Regions from separate parts of the Homo sapiens genome. Here region 2 is linked to region 1. Evidence: promoter capture Hi-C in 16 types of primary human blood cells and fetal thymus (Javierre and others, 2016). All regions are on one chromosome and are shown on one strand. The core of a region is centred on a gene start or on the middle of the fragment in contact, and the rest is flanking DNA. Distances in the headings are between cores, read along the strand shown.

Evidence for each region. The method cuts DNA at HindIII sites, captures the fragments that hold promoters and counts their contacts. A CHiCAGO score of 5 or more calls a contact.
Region 2: a contact is called between a fragment that was not itself captured here and the fragment with the promoter of KRT9 in region 1, in 2 of 17 cell types (erythroblasts and M1 macrophages). The highest score is 6.7, in erythroblasts.

The regions. Positions count from the first base shown.
Region 1 is chr17:41,568,555-41,574,070 of GRCh38, forward strand. KRT9 (keratin 9) reads right to left here and starts at 3,505. Exons shown (of 8, transcript NM_000226.4): 1 at 2,797-3,505; 2 at 1,584-1,666; 3 at 1,305-1,461; 4 at 872-1,033; 5 at 1-79. The coding sequence starts at 3,438. The HindIII fragment of the contact is 20,188 bases long and covers 1-5,516 here.
Region 2 is chr17:40,693,125-40,698,640 of GRCh38, forward strand. LOC105371775 (a long non-coding RNA gene) reads left to right here. Exons shown (of 4, transcript XR_934751.2): 4 at 4,332-4,716. It overlaps KRT24 (keratin 24), which reads right to left. Exons shown (of 8, transcript NM_019016.3): 7 at 5,414-5,516; 8 at 4,867-5,216. The coding sequence ends at 5,113. Among named protein-coding and RNA genes, the nearest start is that of KRT24, 7.9 kb to the right of the region's middle. The HindIII fragment of the contact is 3,749 bases long and covers 1,253-5,001 here.

The DNA.
Region 1 (5,516 bases), core at 2,255-4,754:
GCCGGAGCTGGGTCACCTCCTTGGCACTGGACTGCACCTCCTGACCACTACTGGATACCTCATGCTCGATCTGGGTTATCTGCAAAACCAAAGGCTCAGTAAGCATCAGGCTGTGCCAGGAGCTTCAGTGAGTGAGATTCTGCCCCATTCACCAGGATCTTCACCTCCAGGGCCAAGGCTGATCTGAAGCCAATGACAAGTCATTCTGAGTTCTGGGTACCCTCCAGCCATGGAGGGTTGTCCAGTCCTCTCAACATGACATTCCCTCTCAACAAAGTTGCAAGACCCTTCACGCTTTGTCTCACAACCATCTTTCTAATCTAACCTTATTCCAAACTTCCCCCACCTTTCAAACATACACACACACACACACACACACACACACACACACACACACACACAGCACAGACCATGCCTTCATGTATGTGCCAGACTCTGGCTGGGCACTGGAGACTCAAGGACGAAGGGAACCACCAAGGAGCTCAGTACAGTATGGGAGACACACTGTATCCCTCTGCTATAGTCTTACATTACATAGCATTAGATTAAATTGTTCACATTCTGCTTTTGTTCACACACATCTAATAAACTGTGAGCTTCTCAAGGGCAGCAGTCTTGTTTGGCTCATATCAGACATCAATACCTCTGAGACATCAATACTTTACATATAACATGGCACTGAGAAGCTACTTTGTAATGATGTTTGTATGCAGTGAATGAAGATGGATGAATGACTTCCATTGGAAGATGGATAAATGACAGCTGCACTGAGAGATGCAGAGATAGGAGGATGAAGGAATGGGAGGTGGGAGGGATGGAGATAGGAATAGATGGAGGGGAGGAGGATGAATGGGCAGCCCACTCTGCTCACCTGAGTCTCATATTGATTCTCGATGTCCTTTCTGTTCTTAGCAATGAGCTGCTCATACTCCTGACGCATGTCATTGAGGGTCTTGGTGAGATCTTTGCCAGGAGCAACGTTTATCTCCACATTGACATCTCCACTGTTCTGCCCAGTCAGCTGACTCATCTCCTGCCAGGGAAGAAGGGGAGATGAGGTCACGGATAAAGTCCTCTGCACCACCTTTCAGAATTCTCCCTCTGGTCCCCCCAGGGTACAAAAAGGGGACACAGTTGTGAAGCCAAAGCCCAACCACTACCATAGGTGATGCCAAGGAGAAGTTGAAAGTGTCCTCAAGAGCAAAGGAGAGGGTGTCTCCCAGGTAATGTTCCAAAGCTCCCCTGCTGTCTCTGCATTTCTGCTCCTCCCTCTTCCCGGTAAGCCATAAGCCCCAGCAACCTACCTCCTTATGATTCTTCTTGAGGGCCATCAGCTCCTCCTGCAGAGTCTCATACTGCATCTCCAGGTCAGACTTCTCCATGGTCAGATTGTCCAGCACCTGCCGCAGGCCATTGATGTCAGCATCCACTCCTTGCCGCAGGTTTTGCTCCATCTCAAACCTGCAGACCAGCCAGGGTTAGAAAACAATCAAGAGGGAACCAGGCCCTACCAGGACCTCCAGAGCACTGAGGTTCAGGGGTAAGGGCTGATGACAGGAGAGGAGAAGAGGAGCAGGACTCACTTTATCCTGAAGTCATCCAGTGTCATGCGAGTGTTGTCAATGTCCAGGAGAGTTTTGTTGTTGCCCACTGTCAGGTCCACAATCTGAAAAAAAAAGGACACAGCCATGATATCATGCTGTGGACCACTGCTGAGAGGGCAAGAGGCCAGGCAAAGCCACAGGAGGTGAGGATTCCATCCAGGAAGATTCTCAAGAGGAATGAGGAACTTCCAACAGCTGGGACATGGCACAGACCCCTTCCAGCCTTCAGCGAAGATGTTTGGTGTGGCCTTCATTCATTCATTCAACAAATATTTGAAGATCTACTGCAAAGGGCATTGTAGGATTTAGAGATTACTGACATCCTGTTCCTCAGGGAGCCCACCATTGACTACAAAGTCAAAAGTGTCCTAAAAGAGTTCAAGGAAAGGAGAGGTGGCTTATGGCAATGGGAGATCAAGAAAGACTTCAGGAAGGAGGTGGCTGGCAATTGAATTGGGCCCTGAAGGATGGCTAAGATGTAACATTAATAAATAAATGGAAGAGGTTTAGAGTAGAAGAAACAGCACATTCAGAGACATGCAGGAGTTAAAACAAGAGGAATCACTGAGAATACTGAAGAGCCAGACCGTGAGCTCCACCAGAACTAGGTCTAGCACATCACTATGTCTACCCAGAGCAACCCTGAGGGTAGGCACTCACTGAACTGAGTGGCTGAATAAATGGATAGATAGATAGACATGTGGGTGGAGGGAGGAAGGGATAGATGGAAGGATGGATGGATAGATAGCTTCCATTCCCAGATTTCTGGATCCTCTCCAACACTTGAATAACCAACATGTACAGTCAGGTCCAAAATACCTTAAAAGATCAAGATACACTCCTAAAGAAGCCCAGGAGAAGTACAAAGGAAGAGAAAGTATTGACTTAGACCAAACCTAAAGGAGGTTCCACATCCAGTCCCAGCTCAGCTCACGTTAACCCAGGTCTCCTCTCTGCTCTGCCCAAACTCTGAAAGTTGAGGAAATGGAAGTGAACACTCAGAGCACAGGCCAAAGTCCTATCCTGGGATCCCCAGAAACCAAACACAAGTTTGTTTCTGATGAAAGCGTACATTTCCAAAAGGTGGATTCCCTGGCTATTATCTGAGCTTAGAGTTTAGCATTTTAACTTTTTTGGAAGATAAAGAATGAAAGAGAAAGAGACCAAGACAGAGACAGTTTCCTGCACCTACCTGGTCCTTGAGATCATCAATAGTGTTATAATAAGGGGAGTAGTTCTTCTGGATAGCAGCAGGTCCCTTCTTGTCGTACCAATCCTGGATCTTATTCTCCAGGTCGTTGTTGGCCTCCTCTAGAGCCTGCACCTTATCCAAGTAAGAGGCCAGCCGAGAATTGAGTTCCTGCATGGTGCTCTTCTCATTAGCAGTCAGAATACCACCATCACCTCCTCCAGCACCACCTCCAAAGCCCCCAAACCCCCCAAACCCACTCCCATAGCCACCACCAAAGCCACCTCCAGAACCACCACCAAAGCCACCTCCAAAACCCCCAGAACTACTATAGCCTCCTCCAGAAGCACCACCAAAACCTCTGGAACCACCCCCAAAGCCACCGCCTAAACTACTGGCACTAAAACCACCCCCAGATCCTCCGCCGTAGCTGTAGCCAAAACTGCCACCGCCTCCCCTCCCACAGACACGAGAGCTTCCCCCACCATAGCCACTAGAAGAGCTGAATCGGCCCCCTCCTCCACCGCCCCCTGAGGAGCTGAAGCGGCTGTAGGAAGACCTTATGCTGCCCCCGCTGCCCAGGCCGCCCCCGCCACCCCCGCCGCTGCGGCTCAAGTAGGACGAGGAGAACTGTCTGCAGCTCATGACACAGCTGGTAGCTCACGGGTTGAGAAGCAGTGATAGGAGTGCTACCGGCTCCCAAGTGCAGGGTACAGAGCTGTCCCTGGGGCTGCCTACTTATACCCCCAGCTGAAGGTGGCACGCCTGGGTGTGCCCTTGTTCTGTGCCAGCCTCCCCCCACAGACCCGAGGGAGGTCTGGGATACGGAGGCAGCCGGGCTGCCCCAGGCTCAGCGTCCTTTGGTGACTGCCTGGGGGCGGCCCAGCCTCTCTCCATTGTGTGGGATAATTTGATGACATTAGGCTGTCAGGGCCACCATAAATCAGCTGTACTGCCACAGGGGTGACCTAGATCCTGGAGTCTGGTCTCTGGCTGGCCCCAACAGCAGGTCTGAGACTTAGCCCCTTCGGGATAGAAACTCCCAAGAGCAGAGTCACCTCCTCTATTGATGGTCATTACTGTCTGCATCCCTCATGCCTCCTTGCTCCCACCTTGTGCCCACTGTGAGCTGAGCTGGAACTAGGGTACTAAGGAGTTATCATAGAGGAGGGGGAGGCACAGCCCCTGCCCTTGTGGAGCCCCAAATGGATGAAAACCAATCCTTGCTCTCAGGATCCTCGAGGCTTTCTGCAGAGTCTGAGGCTCTGCCCTTGGGAGACTCCAGTTTGATGAGGAGGCAACTGGCATGGCCAAAAGATGGAGACGGGCACCGAGACCATGCCCGCCAGCACTAAAGGACAGCGTGCAGAGTTCACACAAAGGGCTGGAAGAAGAAAGTGGACCAAATAAACAAGGTGGTGCTGACACTAGCTGACCTCTGAGCAGGAATGCAAGTGGCTCGACTGTCCTGGTCCTTTTGCAGGGCCCAGCAGGGAGTGTGGAATTGACCTTGGTTGAGTGCCTACCCCATACAGAACTCTGGAGGGGATACAGAGATGTGTGACTTATCCCTGCTCCTGGCAGAAACTTGGATGTATATTCTGGTCACCAAGGCCAGAAGAGAATGGTAAAGAACACGCTGGTCTCCGGTGTGCCTACCTGAGCTCCATCCAGCTCCATGCTCATGAGCTGTGTGACTTTGATAAGTTACTTAAATACTCTGTGCCTCAGTTTCCTCCTTTGAAAAAGGTTGATATGAGTAGTTTGTCCATCTCCTAGTAAGAGACTTGTGAGAAGTGCTCAAAAAATGTTCGGCTGCCTCTGATCATTCAGCCCCCTAACTCCCCGTCAACTCTGCCCTCACCCAGACCTTAGCCATGAGCTTCTAACTGCCCTCCCTGCCTCTCCCATTCCCTCTGACTCTTCCTGCACAGCAGCCAGAATGACCTTTCTAATCCATGTCTGACAACATCACTTCACCAGTTTCCCTCCACCCTCAAGATAAGGTCCACATTCCTGGCACTTAGGCCCATCCCCATCTTTCCATTCCTGCCCCATCTCCCACCATCCCCCAGGCCCCCTAGAAAATCATACAATGCTTCCCAAATGCCCTTCTTCCCTCTAAGAATACTCGGCACTTGCAGTGACCTCTGATTGAAATGTCCCACTCCATCTTTTCTACACAGAAAACTACCCATCTTCAGTGATCCCTCTGACTGCCTCCTCCTCTGTCTTCCTGTACTCTCGCCCCCTGGGTTTGTACTGTGCTCTGTTATAGTGTCTCACACTTATCTCCATGGCTCTATGAAGCACTTGATGAAGAATAAAAGTTCATGTACTGAAAAAATAGAAGAAACCTCTCTCTGCGGGCAGCCAGAGCTCCTCTAAGCCTGCCCCTGCTCATCTCGTACTTGCCCCAGTGCCCAGCGCCACGTCTGATCCAAGTAGGATCCCAACACATATGAGATGGAGGAAAGATACCAGTCATTCCAGAAAGATGCTCATTGCTGAAAAGGAGCTAAAGGTAAGGAAATCTCTTTGCCAGGATGGTCAGCAAGGGCCTGAAAGAGGCAATGCCTGCATGTGTAGGCGGCATAGATGACTGGTATTTCTTGAGGGGCTTTTAAGTGATGCTCAACGACTGTTAAATAATACTGAAGTGGCCGGACACGGTGACCCATGCCCGTAATCCCAGCACTTTGGGAAGCCGAGGTGGGCAGATT
Region 2 (5,516 bases), core at 1,877-4,376, 880 kb before region 1:
GGTAGCCTGCTTTATATCTGAACTCAGACCAATGGGTATCTTTTTTAGTTCTTCTGGTCTCCAATGTCAACAGGTTTCTCCTGTCTACATAGATAGAAAACTGTTCTGGAAATTTTGAAGCCTCCCTGTTTAGGCGAGGGAGAAGCAGTTTTGGAAAAATGAAAAAAAAAAAGTACTTTTGGGGGGTACCTCTCACAGAAATAGGCCACTTGGTGAGTCTAGGATATGAAACTACAGAACTTCACTTATTTTGGTAGAGTAGAATTCTAGCTCATGGAATTAGGAGATGGAGCTTTAACTTGTAATTTTTCCACTTTATTTAAAGGGAGAGGCCTTTAAATAAATGACCTCTCCCAGCTTTATTTTCTTCATCTATAAAATGGGAACAGTAATACCTACATCAGAGAGTTTGTGGATTAAGTGAAATAAAATGTAAACATAGATACAAAGTGTTTATATACATAACACGTGCTTATGAAATATAAATTCCTTTTGCCCTCCTGTTTTTTCTCCTTTGGATTGCTCAAAAAGTTATTCTGCTCGACATCACTTATTATAGAAACATCTACATAGGTTAATTATAGACATTAATTTATTGTAATGCTTTTACATCACAGGTGGAACCACATAGAGCTACACTTTCTCTAATTTTTTTTTTTCTTTTTGAGACCAGGTCTCACTCTGTCACCCAGGCTGGAGTGCAGTGGTGCCATCACAGCTCATAGCAGCCTCAACCTCCTGGGCTCAAGCGATTCTCCTGCCTTAGCCTCCTGAGTAGCTGGGACTACAGGCACATGCCACCAGTACCAGCTAATTTTTGTATTTTTTTGTAGAGATAGGATCCTACTATGTTGCTCAGGCTGGTCTCAAACTCCTGGGCTCAAGTGATCCTCCCGCCTCAGCCTCCCAAAGTGCTGAGATTACAGGTGTGAGCCACTCCCGTAATCCCAGCAAAACCCCATCTCTACAAAAAATACAAAAATTAGCTGGGCATGGTGGAGCACACCTGTAGTCCCAGCTACTCAGGGGGCTGAGGTGGGAGGATCGCTTGAGCTCAGGAGGTCTAGGCAGCAGTGAGCTGTGATTGCACCACTGCACTCCAGCCTGGGTGACTGAGGCATGCAATGCACATCCTATCGCAATTTTGTTATAAGCTCGCATGTGCTTATAACAAAGCACATGTTATAAGCTTCATGTTCCTTGTGGTTCTGTCAGCAAAATAACTTCATCATGCCCCCTCTCTGGAAGTCCAAGCTTTGTACACAGGATACCTCTGGGCTTGTCCCTTACCTGCTATTTAAGTGCTAACTTTTAAAAAAGTGGTTGAACTATTAACATTTGCTTCTTTCCTGCATTATCATTTCATATTGACATTGATATTACAAATGAGTACTTTGTTTTCAGAAGGGCTTGATCAATATTTTCTGTTACCCAAGTGTCATATCTCAGCCACTGAAAAGTTTTTAAAGTGGTTTATTACTTGTAGTATTTTGTTCCTTGAGGAGGTTGTGTGGATAATATTACTTGAGCTTCATTTTGGGTGATTTATATTCACCAGTTTGTCTCCTCCTGGGTGAACACTGTCTAATTCCACGAAGTCGTCAAGCCAGTTTAGGCCACTTTCCTTAGAGCTTCAAATACTTTAGCCGTTTACTCTGAGCTGCCTGCTGTGAACCTTGTTTCTTGTTTGTCATCTCTGTGAGGATGGATGCCACGTCGACCATTCTCATCATTCTTGTGTATACTTCCCTGAGGTGAGAAAGAAAAAACAACCCTGTGAATCTCTGGATTAAAAGTCAACGGGTGAAAACCCATGTGCGAGGCTGGGTGCGGTGGCTCACGCCTGTAATCCCAGCACTTTGGGAGGCCGAGGTGGGCGGATCCCAAGGTCAGGAGTTCGAGACCAGCCTGGCCAACATGGTGAAACCCCGTCTCTACTAAAAATACAAAAATTAGCTGGGCTTGGTGGCGCGTGCCTGTAATCCCAGCTACTCAGGAGGCTGAGGCAGGAGAATCGCTTGAACCTGGGAGGTGGAGGCGAGATCGCGCCGCTGCACTCCAGCCTGGGCGACAAGCGAGAGACTCTGTCTCAAAAAAAACAAACAAACAAAAAAGAAAGCCCATGTGCATGTGGGCATGAGCTCTCCCTTCTTACAGTAAATCCACTCTTAGAAAAAAGAAATGTGTTCCTCTCATTCAAAAGTTGAGGCTGAATGCAGTCGTTCATGCCTATAACCCCAGCCCTTTGGAAGGCCGAGGTGGGAGGATTGCTTGAGCCCAGGAGTTTGAGACCAGCCTGGGCAACATAGTGAAACTCCATCTCTACAAAAAATAAACAAAATTAGCTGGGCATGGTTGCCTGCAGCTACTCAGGAGGCTGAGGTGGGAGGATTGCTTGAGCCCAGGAAGTTGAGGCTGCAGGTGAATCGAGATGGCACCACTACACTCCAGCCTGGGCAACAGAGCGAGACCCTGTAACAAAACAAAGCAAAAAAATTGCCTGGAGAGCTGAACTTTAGGGTCTCACAATAAACATATTCCTATTGTAGAGTTTTAAAATAATTTTAAGGCAAGTAATAATGTATGAACACCATGTCCTTAACTTTTTATTCAGCACTGTAAATACGTTTTATGATCCAAAATGGTTGAATAGTTTCAGTTTTCAAAATTGAACATGCCCTTAACAACACATTCTATTGTGTCTCAGTGTTCTGGTGTCTATGATTGGGCCTTTTCTATATTTGTAAACAATCATTCAGTACAAACGCAGCATCTTAACGCATGACAAGGAAGAACAGATGAGGGTTTTCACCTCGAGATGACTTTCAGAGTAGCCTTATACTTTTGCCTTGACATGAAAATAGTACTAGCCATGAACATAGGTCTCAGGTGGCCAAAATCCACAGCTAGAAGGTTAGACTTGAGAAGACCCACAGAGAGAGGCTTCGCTGATGTGGCCGGGATGGCTTAGGTTCTGCAGGCTGCTTACGGCAGATTTCCATTTCTGCTCTTGAGCTATGAATCCAGTTGGATGAGCTGGTTCAGACTTTTAGTATTTCAGCAGAGAAGAAGCATTCAGGGTTTTATTTATTGTAATGATTTGATGGTGGAAAACAGCTTTGACTTAAGCAACTTAACATTGCTCTTTTTCTTTGAGTAGTGGTTTAATGTTTATTCTGTGGTTAGCTATTAACCTTATTCTGTGGTTAGCTATTTAAGCAGAAGTCATAATGTACCCAGAGGTTCATTTTAAGTTTTATTCAATGTGCCCAGAAGATGAAAAACTACATGTTTTGATGATAGGTTTGATATGCTCACACAATTCTTAATTGGTTTTATATTGGAAGATACATGTTCAGATTTGTCCTTTTATAACTTTACATTTGGCTTTTTATGCCACGTCCCGTGTTCTTTCCTTGAGGACTGGCTTGTAGAGTTGATTCTCTAATTTGTGATATGGGCATATTAAATTCCTTGATTGAGAAAGCCCTTAGCCAGCCTGGGTTGGTGCTATGCCTGGTTCTTCCTGGGGCCCGTACCACCTCCTACCCAATCTTAACAGGTTTCATCATCCCAAACAAGACAAGACAAAGCCATGTGGCCTCAGGGATACTGTAGAAATGAAAGAATAGGGCTATGACCACCAACGGGATGAAAGATCTTAGCAGTGGAGACTGGGGAAAAGAAACACCAGCTTGGCGAAGTGGCAGGTTTTGGCTAAAGATGTGGCTAGATTTGGCAGGGGAACAAGTGCCTGAGGATCTCTTCTCTTTGGGGCTTTCAAGGTTTCAGGAAATCAGATTGCCATATCACATAGCCAATCTTATTTCCCAAGACTCTTTTTTGGCCCCTGTCCTAAATGTCCTGTAAACACACATGTCTGATTCCTATGTCACTTCTGATGCAGATTGTGAAATCAAGTCTTTACTATTAACAGCTTTTTATTGCTTGCTGTCTTCTTTGTGTTTTAGCTCTTCTTCTCTGCTGAAATGTGAGCTTTTTGAAGTAGGAGGGAGATTTTGAGTTTCTTTTTTATCTTATAAAATATCGAGTTCAGTGATGGACATATATAAACTAGACATTAATTATAAGTTGATTATTAAAATAATCACATCCTTCTTTGTGGGCTAAGCCGTTGACACGGTAGTCTAATTTCAGCTATCATGCCACTGAGTTCTTATGTGATGCCATTAAAAATGCCCACATTAAAAAAATGACTATAATCTGAATTGTATAAAGAAGGTAATGTGATACCCTACCTCGTTTTAACCTGATTGTCTCTCTTAGCTGAGAGAGCCGGACAGACTCCATTTTTGTTTCTTCACTTGCAGCTCCCCTCCCTTAAAGGCATAAGTAGTGCAAGCTGACTCCGAGCACATCCAGGAATGCGCTTACTGATGAGATATCGAGGCAAGCTAAATCAGCAGTTCCTGAGGACGCGCTTGGGGGATGGCACCCAAAGCCCCTGCATTATCTCTTTGTGATAGTTTGAGCCCCTGCACCTGGAACTGTTTACTTTTCTGTAACTGTTTCTGTAACCAATTAATCTTTCTTAATTGGTTTGCCTGTTCTGCTTCTGTAAAAATTGCTTCAGCTAAACTCCCTCTCCCCTATTTAGACCACGATATAAAAAGAAATCTAGCCCCTTCTTCGGGGCCGAGAGAATTTTGAGCTCTAGCCGTCTTGTTCGCCGGCAATAAAAGGACTCCTGAATTAGTCTCAGAGTGTGTCATTTCTCTATAACTCGCTCAGTTACAACAGTAAGATATAAAGAATGAACTGACATTAGTAATATAGTCATGCAGCTAGATCATACTTGATAGCTTCCTTCCTAGGTAAAATACTTTTTAAAAAAATAAGTAATAATTAACTTGCAAAAGTAAATTTATTGAAGCATAGAAACAATTAAAGCAAAGTTGTTAATTCAGCTATTTCAAGAGCATTCTAATGAGGAAATAAGAAGATGCAGAAAAGTTGGCTAGTCATCCATTTCTGGACTGAAGCTTTTCCTGAAATTATCCAGAAAGATGCCTAGATTGATGCCATTTCTTCGCTTGTGTCCTTCTTGATTTTTTTTTCTTTGAAAGACACTTTTGTTGATCTGGAAGTTCCTTATTTAACTTTCACCTCAGAAATACTGCTGACTTGAGACGAGACAACCTTGCCATCCACCAACTCCTCTACGATAGTCTTAGTCACTCTAGTCTTGCTTGAATCTGAAAATCATGGGATTGCAATGTCAGTCTGGAAACTCTCACAGAAACACAGAGCAAGAGAAATTCAATCACATGCATTCAACGTGTTCTGTCTGGGTAAGATTATGTAAAAAATAGCGGACTCTTTTAGTATGACAAGCAAAGTATGTCTTCACTTTTAAATTACAGAACTATTATCAATATTAAAAAAAGTCTACCTCGTCCTTGACCAGAACAGCTTCCAGATCTTGAGTCACCAGATACCAGATCCCTGGATCCCATGTTTACAGATCCTGAGTTTCTACCACCAAATTCTGCAAA